Regions from separate parts of the Homo sapiens genome. Here region 1 is linked to region 2. The links are contacts of gene promoters, found by promoter capture Hi-C in blood cells and fetal thymus (Javierre and others, 2016). All regions are on one chromosome and are shown on one strand. The core of a region is centred on a gene start or on the middle of the fragment in contact, and the rest is flanking DNA. Distances in the headings are between cores, read along the strand shown. Region 1 has its middle 640 kb from the start of LINC02476. Region 2 holds the start of KCND2 (potassium voltage-gated channel subfamily D member 2).

Region 1 (5,034 bases), core at 1,985-4,484, 1.0 Mb after region 2:
AACATTATAATAAAACAACATTGAATGAAAATGATGTCATCGAGGACTCGTTGTACTGGAAAAGGAACAGAAGAAGACAGTGCCCTTTGGGGACTGAGTATGTGAAGGAGAGCATATAGAGAACTATATATCTAAGGACTCCTCCCATTTAAGATTTTAGCCTGTAGCTAGCAGTTCACGATGCATGCAAAAATGTGTTGGAGACACTTGTGGAAATAATCATCCTTGCATGGGGAAAGAAAGGATTGTATACTATGAACACTGAAAAGAGTGGAGGAACCCTGGAAGGGAAAGGGCCAGAGAGGATAACATCAAACTCAGCCAAGAACATGTGATGAACAACATATTTCAACTAAATTGCAAGGATTTAAAAGAATCTGTTATAACTATGTGTAATACATGAAAATAAAGCATGATTAATAAAAATCTCAACAGATAAATAGATTTGAGCTGAGAGTTAGAAACAATGAAAATGGAAAATCTAGAACTGGGCAATGCAGTTTCTGGGGAAAAAGATGAAATTTTATAGCCAAATAAAATGGCAGAATAAAGAGAAAGTATATTGAAGATAGATTAATATTAAGGATCCAAGTAAATAGCAAACAGGAAAAATATAAAAAATAAAGACCTGTTAGATTATAGCAAATGGTCCTTGGACATTGCATAATTAGGGTATCACAAAGAAAACAGTTTTAAAAAATGGAGCAAAAACAAGGTGAAGATACTATTCTCTACATGTTTTCCAAATTTGGCAAGATATGGAAATTTCTAAATCCAAGATATTGAGCAAATACCAACCATAATAAACAGAAGGAAGCGCAAGCTCAGGAACATCATATTCAGACTGCTGAATGCCAGAGATAAAGAACAAATATTGAAAGTGACAAATGAAAAATGACATGTTAGATATACAGGAACAACAATCTGCTTAATTGCTAACTTTTCATCAAAATTCATGAAGAAGGGAAGAGAGTGGAACATCTCCAGCTTTCTTTTTTTTTTAAAAAAAAAATCTGTAATTAAAGAATCCTATATTCACCTAAAATATCATTCAAGAAAGAGGATTTCTTATAGATATTTTCAGATAAAAGTAAGAGAATCAATTTTCATCAGACCTGAACTGTAGGAAACAATGCAGGAAGGCATCTAAGAAAAGAAGAAAAAAATGTGTGAAATGGAAACCACTCCTCAGAAAAGAAAGAAGAGTTTTACAATAAAAAATATCTGAGTAAATGGAAAATAATATGTTTGACTTTCTTCTCTATTAATAATATCTTAGTTCCTGATAAGCATATGCTGTTAAAAAAAAGTAACACTATCTTATGATGTTTATAATATACGTAGGAGAAATAGATGGAAAAATGTATAAAGCTTTCTAAGTAATTCAATCAGAAAAGAGGTTTTCTATAAATTGTATGGAATAACTGAATAGAAAATAATCAACAATGAGTCTCTTCAAACCATATACAAAAATCTAACTCAAAGTTTCTTTTACCTAAATGTAAAAACTAAAACTATCAAAATTCCAGGAGAAAATAGGAATAAATATTTGTGATATTTGGTGAAGCAAAGTTATTTTTACTTTAAAACTAGGCAACATAAATCCTATGTATAGAGAGAAAAAAAAGGTAAAATAGACCTTAGGTTTATAATCTTTCGTCCTTCAAAAGGCATATTTACAAAAACCAAACAAATTGACCAGCTGCAGAGTGGGAGAAACTTTTTCACAAACATGTATCTTTTAATTGACTTGTATACAGACATCTAAGGAACTAATATTATTTAATAATAAAAGACAAACAACCCAATTAACACACACCAAAAAACCCAAAAGATTTGACCATTTTTCCAAAGAAGCTATGCAAATGGCCAATAATCACATGAAAAAAAGCCAACATCACTAGTTATCATATAATTGCAAATTCAAAAATCAAAATTATATGTCACTACATATTCACTACAATGGCTAGCATTAAAAAAAAATGGTATCAAGTACTGGCAAAGAAGTAGACCAAATTAAACTTCCAAATGCTGCTGATGGGAATACAAACTGGTACAGACACTTTGGAAACACTTTAGCAGTATCTTAATTTAAATATGAATTTAATATGCTACCTGGCATTTTTGCTTATTGGAAGTTATCCAAGACAAATGAAAACACAAATCCACCCAAATATGTACGAAAAATATTGTTAACTGCTTTATAGATCATATCCCCAAAGCTATAAATAACACAACGTTCCAACACTAGGAATGAATAAACACACTATTCTGTGTTCATCACAAAAATCATATGAGATAAATGTCATTTTCTCAGGTATGGGTTGCATTGTTTCCCAAATTCAAATGTTGAAGCCCTAATGCCCAATATATAATGATGTGGCTGTATTTGGAGATAGGGTCTTTGAAGAGGTAACTAAGTTAAAATGGGGTCATTAGCACGGGCCCTAATCCAATATGACTTGTGTCCTTTTCTTATGCAGAGGGTATTAGGACACAGACAACAGAGACAAATAAACCATATGGGGAAAAAAGGAAAGGTTGGCAATATAAAAGTCAAAGAGGGAGGCCTCAGAGAAAACTAAACCTGCTGACACCTTAATCTTGGATTTTTAGCCTCCAGATTTATGAGAAAATAAATTTCAGTTGTTTAAGCTACCCAGGCTGTGCTATTATGTTATGGCACTCTTAATAATATAATATACCCCCATTTGTAGTAGAACAAGTGGAATAAATATACAACAACCTCTCAAGTTGATGTGTTCAGAAACGTCTAATTTCACATTCAAATCCACATCTGAAATTTCAAAGATTATTTTTATTTTACTACACTGTACTGCTACCTTTCTTTGTCTCTTTCTTTCATAATAAATAGTACTATTAAAATTGTAGTTTTCCTTCAAGATGATAGATTTGAGGCTTTTAGCATGTCTCAGCTAATTGGAAATAGCGTGATAGTCCATAAAGATAAACTTTGTGAGCTTTAAGTCAAAAAGGAAAATGGGAATCCACTAGATTTTTGAAGGAAACCCCAGGTCATGGGGAGAAGAACATGGGTAAACAGCCTCCGTAAGTGTCTGGCCGAGTGAGTAAAGCCCAGGAGACAGGCAGAGACCCTCCGGCTGTGACTCACTTTTCCAGTGGGGATCCAAGCAACTCAGGCCAAGGGAGAGCATGTTGTTTCTTTCAAGCCCTGGAGCTAACTTGCAGAGAGGCTTGGAGACACTGTGAGGAAAAGGCACCTGGAAGAGCTGCAGACATTTTCTCAGACGCAGGATCAAGAGCAGTACACCATTTTTAATTCAGGCACATACACAATTACACATCTCTTGGTGACTCGGCAGCATGGCTGCTCAGTCATTTCAGTCTTGGGCCAGAGATTGGAGTGCTAATCTGGAGCAGGGTAGGGACTTACACAGCCAGACCTGTGGAAAGCGCATCGGGAAATGTAAGTGCTGAAATTGTGCTCTCCCCTGTCACAGGCCTGAGGCAGGAGAGCTGCTACAGTGGTAGTTTCTCCTGGGCAATGACACTTGTAGCCAGCGTCAGGTAGGCAACCTGCAACCAGTCTGTGTGTGCCACTGCAGGGCACCCCAGCCTGCTCTCCTGAGACAATGATGCAGCAGGGCCCTCTCTAGTCCACCTGCAAGCAGAAATCCAGGCACTTGGAGTAACTTCTTGCCTGGATCAGCAGTCTGAGATGCCCTACTTCTCGTGGAAACAGACTGTGGGACAGTCAGGACCTCGCCCGTCCACACCCAGGCATTCAGAGCAAATGTTTGCCTGGCTCAGCAGCCTGAGATGCCCCACCCTTCCTGGGCATAGATCGTTGTGTAGTGGGGCTCTCTCCACTCCACACCTAGGCAGATCTCCAGGCATTCAGAGAACCTACTTGCCTGGTTCAGCAACCTGAGTCACCACATTTCTCCTGTACAGAGATCCTGGTGCAGAGAAGTTCTCTACACTCCACACCCAGGAAGGTTTTCAGATATTCAGAACACACGTTCACCTGGTTCAGCAAGATGAGCTAACCCACCCTTCACGTGCAGAGATCTTGGTGCAGGAAGGCCTTCTCTGCTTCATGCCCAGGCAGATCTCCAAGAATTCGGAGCACTAGTTCACTTGGACCAGCAGCCTGAGTGGCCTACCTCTCCTGTGCAAAGATCTTGGTGCAGAGGGCCACTTAACATTTGACGCTCAGGAAGATCTCCAGGCACCCGAAACAATCTCAAAGATTAGTAGTTTAGGCTGCCCCATTCCTATGCAGAGACCCTGGGGCTGAGAAGGCTTCCCAGCTCTACTCTTAGACAATCCTCTGGGGGCTTAGTGGCTACTTTGGATTCTCCCTTGGTGTTGGTGATTTTGCCTGCCATCGGGGGACTTGTAGGCAGACCTGCCAGGTCTAGGCCCTCATCGTGGGCCTTGCCCTCCTAAGGATGAGAAGGGAACTCAGACCACTGTGCATTCCACGAAACAGCCCATTGCTTGAGGCAAAAGAGGGTTACTCACAGTAAACAAGAATAAAGTATATACCCATCTACAGCGACAAAGCCGGCTCTTACCTATATGCGCCATCTGCTGGCTGATGGGTCAAACTGCACAGCCCAATATAAAACCTACTGACGGAAGTGCACAGGGCTGCAGAAGCAAAGCCAAAATATTCTACTCAGCATTCTCTACAGTCACACCCCATAGGGAGGGATGGAAAGGGAAAGGGAAAAAATATATACAGAGATATTAGTACAGGGGGAAAAGTAAAAAAAGATTCTACCAGTATGATAATAATTACATATTTAGGAAGGAACCAGTGCAATAATACTGGCACCATGTAAAATCCAAATGCAACAACGTCATCAAAGAAGGGCATTAGTTATCCAGCAATGGTCCCTAACCAACATGGAAACTCATAAATAACAGAAAAGAATTCAAAGCATAGATTGCAAAAAAGCTCAATGAGATCCAAGAAAAGTTTGAAAATCAACACAAAGAAACTTCTAAAGAAATCCAGAAAATGAAGAAAAAGATAAAAATCTT
Region 2 (5,137 bases), core at 2,445-4,944:
ATCACTCCCCAGCTTATCTAAGAACTCATAAAAGTAAAAAGATCTAACCATTTTATTTTATTAGATTCTCTAATATGTAAAATGCTGCTACTTTTCTGCAGTTTAACATTATTAATCATTTGCCTCCTTTCCTTTTCTCTACTACCTAAAAAAACTTAATTCTAGCCCTAAAAGTATATTAAAAACAACAGCATGAATTCAGAAATTTGTCCCTTTGGTTGCAGAACTTCATTATACCCCCAAAAAAGAATTCACAAAAAAATTCTAAAAGGAAATTAGGACCCCAAATTTTATAATACAGCCAGCCTTGGTGACCATCAATCTTACCAGATACTGCTCTATCTTCTATGTGTATTTAATGGGTGTGGACCCATTGCCTGATGGGATCTGTAGATTCTAAAAAAAAATGTGTGGATGACAGTCTTTTGCTTCTTTTTTTGAAACTATGAACCTAGAGCTTGAAATATGTTGCAAATTTAATTCCACTGCATATTGTAGAGTTGATCAGTTTCAGCTCTGATATTCTAAAAGACTGAATAACCTATCAACCATAATTAAAGTGCATACATATGAATATGTGCATATATATTATAAAATACTTTGATAATTACATCTACAATCTATGTATTACGATGTAAAATAGGAATTATGGTTCTTAGAGGAAAAATGTACACCATAAGTATCTATTCATATGAAAATAATAGTTCAAGTATACCTGGAAACTTTTCATTTAAATGCATTGAACCACTTTATAGACATTTCAATATACATTGTATATATTTGTGTCTTTATTAGGGCATAGATTTTGTTTTTCATTGTCATATTTTTATATATTAATATAAATATTGCTACTACTTTCATATATTCAGGAATTCTAAAATTTCTTTGTATCTTTATCACTTTCAGGCATCAACATTTGCCAGCAATGCCTTAATACTTCAACGTGTGTATTATACCCATTTCACAGATGAAAAGAGTTTTGCCAAACCATTTAGATAATGCTTTCCTAAACTCAGGAAAGAAAACAAATGATTTCCCCGGAGTTACCATGTAACCTCGATGGGTCCACAATCGCCTCACCCATACCCAACCTCCATCCCATTTCCCATTATGGCACCTACCCTAGTGTTGTCATGGTGACGATGGTATACCAGAAGGCTGCAGGGATGCTGGTGAACTTGCTAGCCGAAGACCCCTTCTCTGCGTAGAACATAACTGTAGCGAAGATGATGATAGCCATGGTGAGCGAGAAAAGCAAGAAGCCCAATTCTGAGGCACAACTCTTCAGTGTGTACCCCAGGATGCGCAGGCCTTGAGAGTGGCGGGAAAACTTAAAGATCCTGAAGACCCGGAAGACTCGGAGTGTGACAAAGGCTCCGCTGACGTCCTCATTGTCTGTCATCACCAGCCCAATGTAATAAGGCAGGATGGCCACCACGTCGATGATACTCATGACACTACGCACAAAACGGTAACGACTAGGCGCTGCAGCCAGGCGAAGCAAATACTCAACTGTGAAGATCATGACGCAGGCCGTGTCCAAGCAGAAGAAGGCCACAGCATACCGCTCTCCACAGGGCAGTTCTTTAATGTGACCTGGGCTTGATCCGCACGGCACTGTTTCCACCACATTCGCGATGACAGAGACGGCAATGAAAAACCCCGTGACATAGTAGAACACCAGGGCCATCGTGCTGGTGTGGGGGTTCTCGAAGGCCCTCCAGACCCTCTGCCTTGCAGTCATGGTGGGCAAGGCGCTCTCCCCAGCGGTGTCGGTATCCGCGTCGTCCTGCAGGCGCTCGGCGTTCTCTCGCCTGCGATCCTTGTACTCCTCATAACAGCAGTCGCCGATGATTTCCGGGATGAGGCCAAAGAAGGCCAGTTCTTCATCGTAAGCAGAGATGCACTCGTGGCGAGGATAGTGGAGCTTCCCAGTGCGGTAGAAATTCAGGATGTGGCGGAAGATGTCTGGGTCACGGTCAAAGAAATACTGCTGAGTTTCTGGGTGGTAGAAAAAGTCCCTCTCAGAACTGCCCAGTAGAGTGTCTGGGTAACGTTCCAGGGTGTCCTGCCACGTCTGGAAGCGGGTGCCACTCACATTCAGCACAATGAGAGCATCTTGGGTCCTTTTCCTCTCCTGCCTCGGGGGAGCCGGCATAGGCCCCGAGGCCACAGGCATCCACCCGATAGCCGCTGCCCTTGCAAAAGGCAGCCACGCTGCCACCCCCGCCGCCATGATTACTTGAAGCGGAAGGAAGAAGGGTAACGAGGCGTCTACAATGGGTCACCGAAGCAGCCAAAAGTCACCCACTTCCTCCAGTCAAGCAAAGTACTAGTGAGAAACGTGGTCCAGAGGTGTAACTCTTATTCCAAGATAGGGCTCCTGGTAAAGTCACAGTTCTCAGAAGGGCAACTTTCCCTCCAAGACAGGTATTTGGAATAATGGCAACAAAATACAACGTCCTAACAATCACCCTCAACAGAACCCAGCCAAATCTCTTCCTGCAGGTGGGCTAGGCCACCCTCTGGCACAAATAAGCACACAGGTGCAGCCGTTTCTTCAAACAGGTGTTTTTGATTTCTCCCCGGCACAGTCTGGATAATATAGGGTCAGTATGTGGAGTGTAGGATAGAGAAGACGAACGAGAGTCACCCAATAGAATTCTTTCGACGAATTAGGGAACCCTTACACCTACCCTTCTCACTCTTTCAAACCTTCCTTTCCAAGTAGCCCTTCCCGCCAAAGGAGTCTCAAAAAGGCGACCTGTTGTTGTAGCTCAGGAGATGCGGTCACAGCCGCTGCCCCACGTCTCTCTTTGGGGGTCCAGCTGCTGCTGCCTCTACTCCTCGGGCTGTATTTGCAGAGATGGAGGTGATGTGCAGTGGTTACGGTGGGGGGCGTTAATAGAGATTCTCCTCCCCCACGTCTACAAACACCCTCTGTGTCTGCCAAAAGCGTTCGCCCAATCGCCCCTTCACTCTCTTTTCAAGTTCAGCTCAGGTGCAGTGTGACAGTTACAGAGCTCAGGAGCTGGCAGCCGCCGCCGCCGTGGCGGCAGCAGCATCTGCTTCCGCGCAGAACGCGCCGCTCCCGCGGTACATACCTGGCCAAGTGCGCGCCGGGGCTTAGTTGCATAGAGACTTTCTCCTCGCCGTGCACCCGGAAAGGGAAGAGGAGAGAAAGCAGCTCGCGAGCAGCCGAATCCGATGCGCCGAGAGAGCATAAATAAAGCTCAAGCGAGCTCTTCTTTCCCTTCCCCCATCCCTCCGTGCCTCCCTCCTCCTTTTCACCTTCCAAAAGCCAGGCGCAGGCGAGCAGAGCAGCAGCAACAAGTTCAAAAGGTGCGGGGGAGGCGAGAACGGAGGGGACTCGCTCCTGCCAACTTACTGCGGGGCCACTGTCGCGGGAGCCTGGCCAGCGCGGTGCGGGGCTGCGGGGCGGCGGGGCTGCGGGGCGGCCGGGCGGGCGGCGTTGGCGCGGTGGGGCCGGGGCCGGGGCCGGCACGGGCTCTCGTCCGAGCGCGGAGGCAGAAGGCGCTCGGCAGCGCGGGGGCGCGGGAGGGCTGCTAGCTGCTTCCCCGCCAGTGGGTGGTCCTGCATCTCCCCGGGCTCCCCGCGCTGCTCTGCTAGTGCGATCAATAAATAAGGAGAAAATAAATAAATAACCGCGCGCACGCCCCGCCACGCAGGTTAGGAAAGGCGTCTCCTGCCTTTCCCTCGGCTTGACCTTTCTCCGCCCCCGCCCCCTCGGGCTCCTCTCGCTCCACCCCAGCCACCCACCAACCCCGGCGCAAAATGTCACCGAGGGAGAGCATCCAGGTGGATCTGCTGGGGAGAAAAGCGAGCCTCGGATGAACAAAGGGAAGCTTCACGTGCTGGGCTGCGGTGGTTTGGTGGAGGAGAGGAGAAAGGGGACCCGTGCCTTGCTTCTGCCTCTCGAGTCCCGGTTCAAGGCGAGCGTGGGAAAATGGGGGGAAAGAGAGCGAGAGAAGCTGGGAAGGAGGGTGAGCGGAGCGGAATGCGCAGGAATTGGTTGTCTTCTGGGGGCGACTGGAAGGCAAGACCCGCAAAGCTCCGACGCGGAATTTTTAAGTGCATTTCCTCTTTCTGTTTTTATTTATTTTCAAAACCAGATTGTTAACGTTGCAGGGATTGATATGCCATCTGTCCAACTTGCCAAAAAATCAGAGACTCTCCTCGATCGAGGTCTTGACACAACTCCTTTTCCCGTCCTTTACGAATAACAGGGATGTGGAGCCCTTTTCTAAATGTCATCGTCAAGGGGCGTGCGTCTCTGAAAGTTTGCGTCCCCTTCATCCTCTCTGCGCATCACTGCGCATATTTAAAATAGTTAAAAGAGTTAAAGGTGTTCGTATGAGGGGTTACTGAGGTAGAGAGACACAGGAAAATTGTCGCTACCAACCTTTTTGTTTTTCGCGTACCCCGCCCCCGAGTCATTAGGAATCATCCTTAAAACCAAACGTAACACATACAAGCCACTAGATGGCGTGGATGGCGAGAAGTTAAATCTGCACCTAAGGTTTGGATGCTTTAGGAAGGTGAAGGATCAAAATTAACTGGTCCAACAGAGAGTCAGATCACATAAACATCCCCAAACCCCTTCGCTGCCACCCACCTTTTTTGTGTTTATGTGACATATACTACTTAGGCTTGAGTCTGCATTTGGATAGTTGTGGGATGAGATGTGGAGAGTTTCCTTTTGAAATTCCTTTGAAAATTAAATCTAGATTACTGAATCATCATCATCATAGTAATTAAGATCTTTGGCAATAATGAGGCTTCATCTGTATTGATGAAGAATAGTAGCCTAATTTCTACCTAAAAATTACTTTTCATGGCTTGGTTTGACTGCCCTTGGTTTGTAAAATAAGTGGACTGTGTGTTGTACTTTACGGAAATTGACTTTTAAGCCCTAGAGATTACAGGCATGATGTGTCAACCTTGAAAATTTGAAATGGGATACGTCAAAGAAAATATATAAACTAAAAAATGAGTATAGAAAATAACCAGAGAATTTAAAATATCCTTATCATGTACAGGATTTTCTGTAGAGATAAAAGGGTATTTTTTGTTTGTTTATTTGTTTACAGAATAGAGATTTAAGGAATCCTGTGTC

Evidence for each region. The method cuts DNA at HindIII sites, captures the fragments that hold promoters and counts their contacts. A CHiCAGO score of 5 or more calls a contact.
Region 1: a contact is called between a fragment that was not itself captured here and the fragment with the promoter of KCND2 in region 2, in 3 of 17 cell types (endothelial precursors, megakaryocytes and M2 macrophages). The highest score is 15.4, in endothelial precursors.

The regions. Positions count from the first base shown.
Region 1 is chr7:119,269,685-119,274,718 of GRCh38, reverse strand. No RefSeq gene overlaps it. Among named protein-coding and RNA genes, the nearest start is that of LINC02476, 640 kb to the left of the region's middle. The HindIII fragment of the contact is 3,722 bases long and covers 1,374-5,034 here.
Region 2 is chr7:120,271,732-120,276,868 of GRCh38, reverse strand. It overlaps KCND2 (potassium voltage-gated channel subfamily D member 2), which reads right to left and starts at 3,694. Exons shown (of 6, transcript NM_012281.3): 1 at 1,122-3,694. The coding sequence starts at 2,236. RefSeq lists an enhancer at 2,929-2,998 and silencers at 3,439-3,588, 4,508-4,607. The HindIII fragment of the contact is 3,977 bases long and covers 1-3,868 here.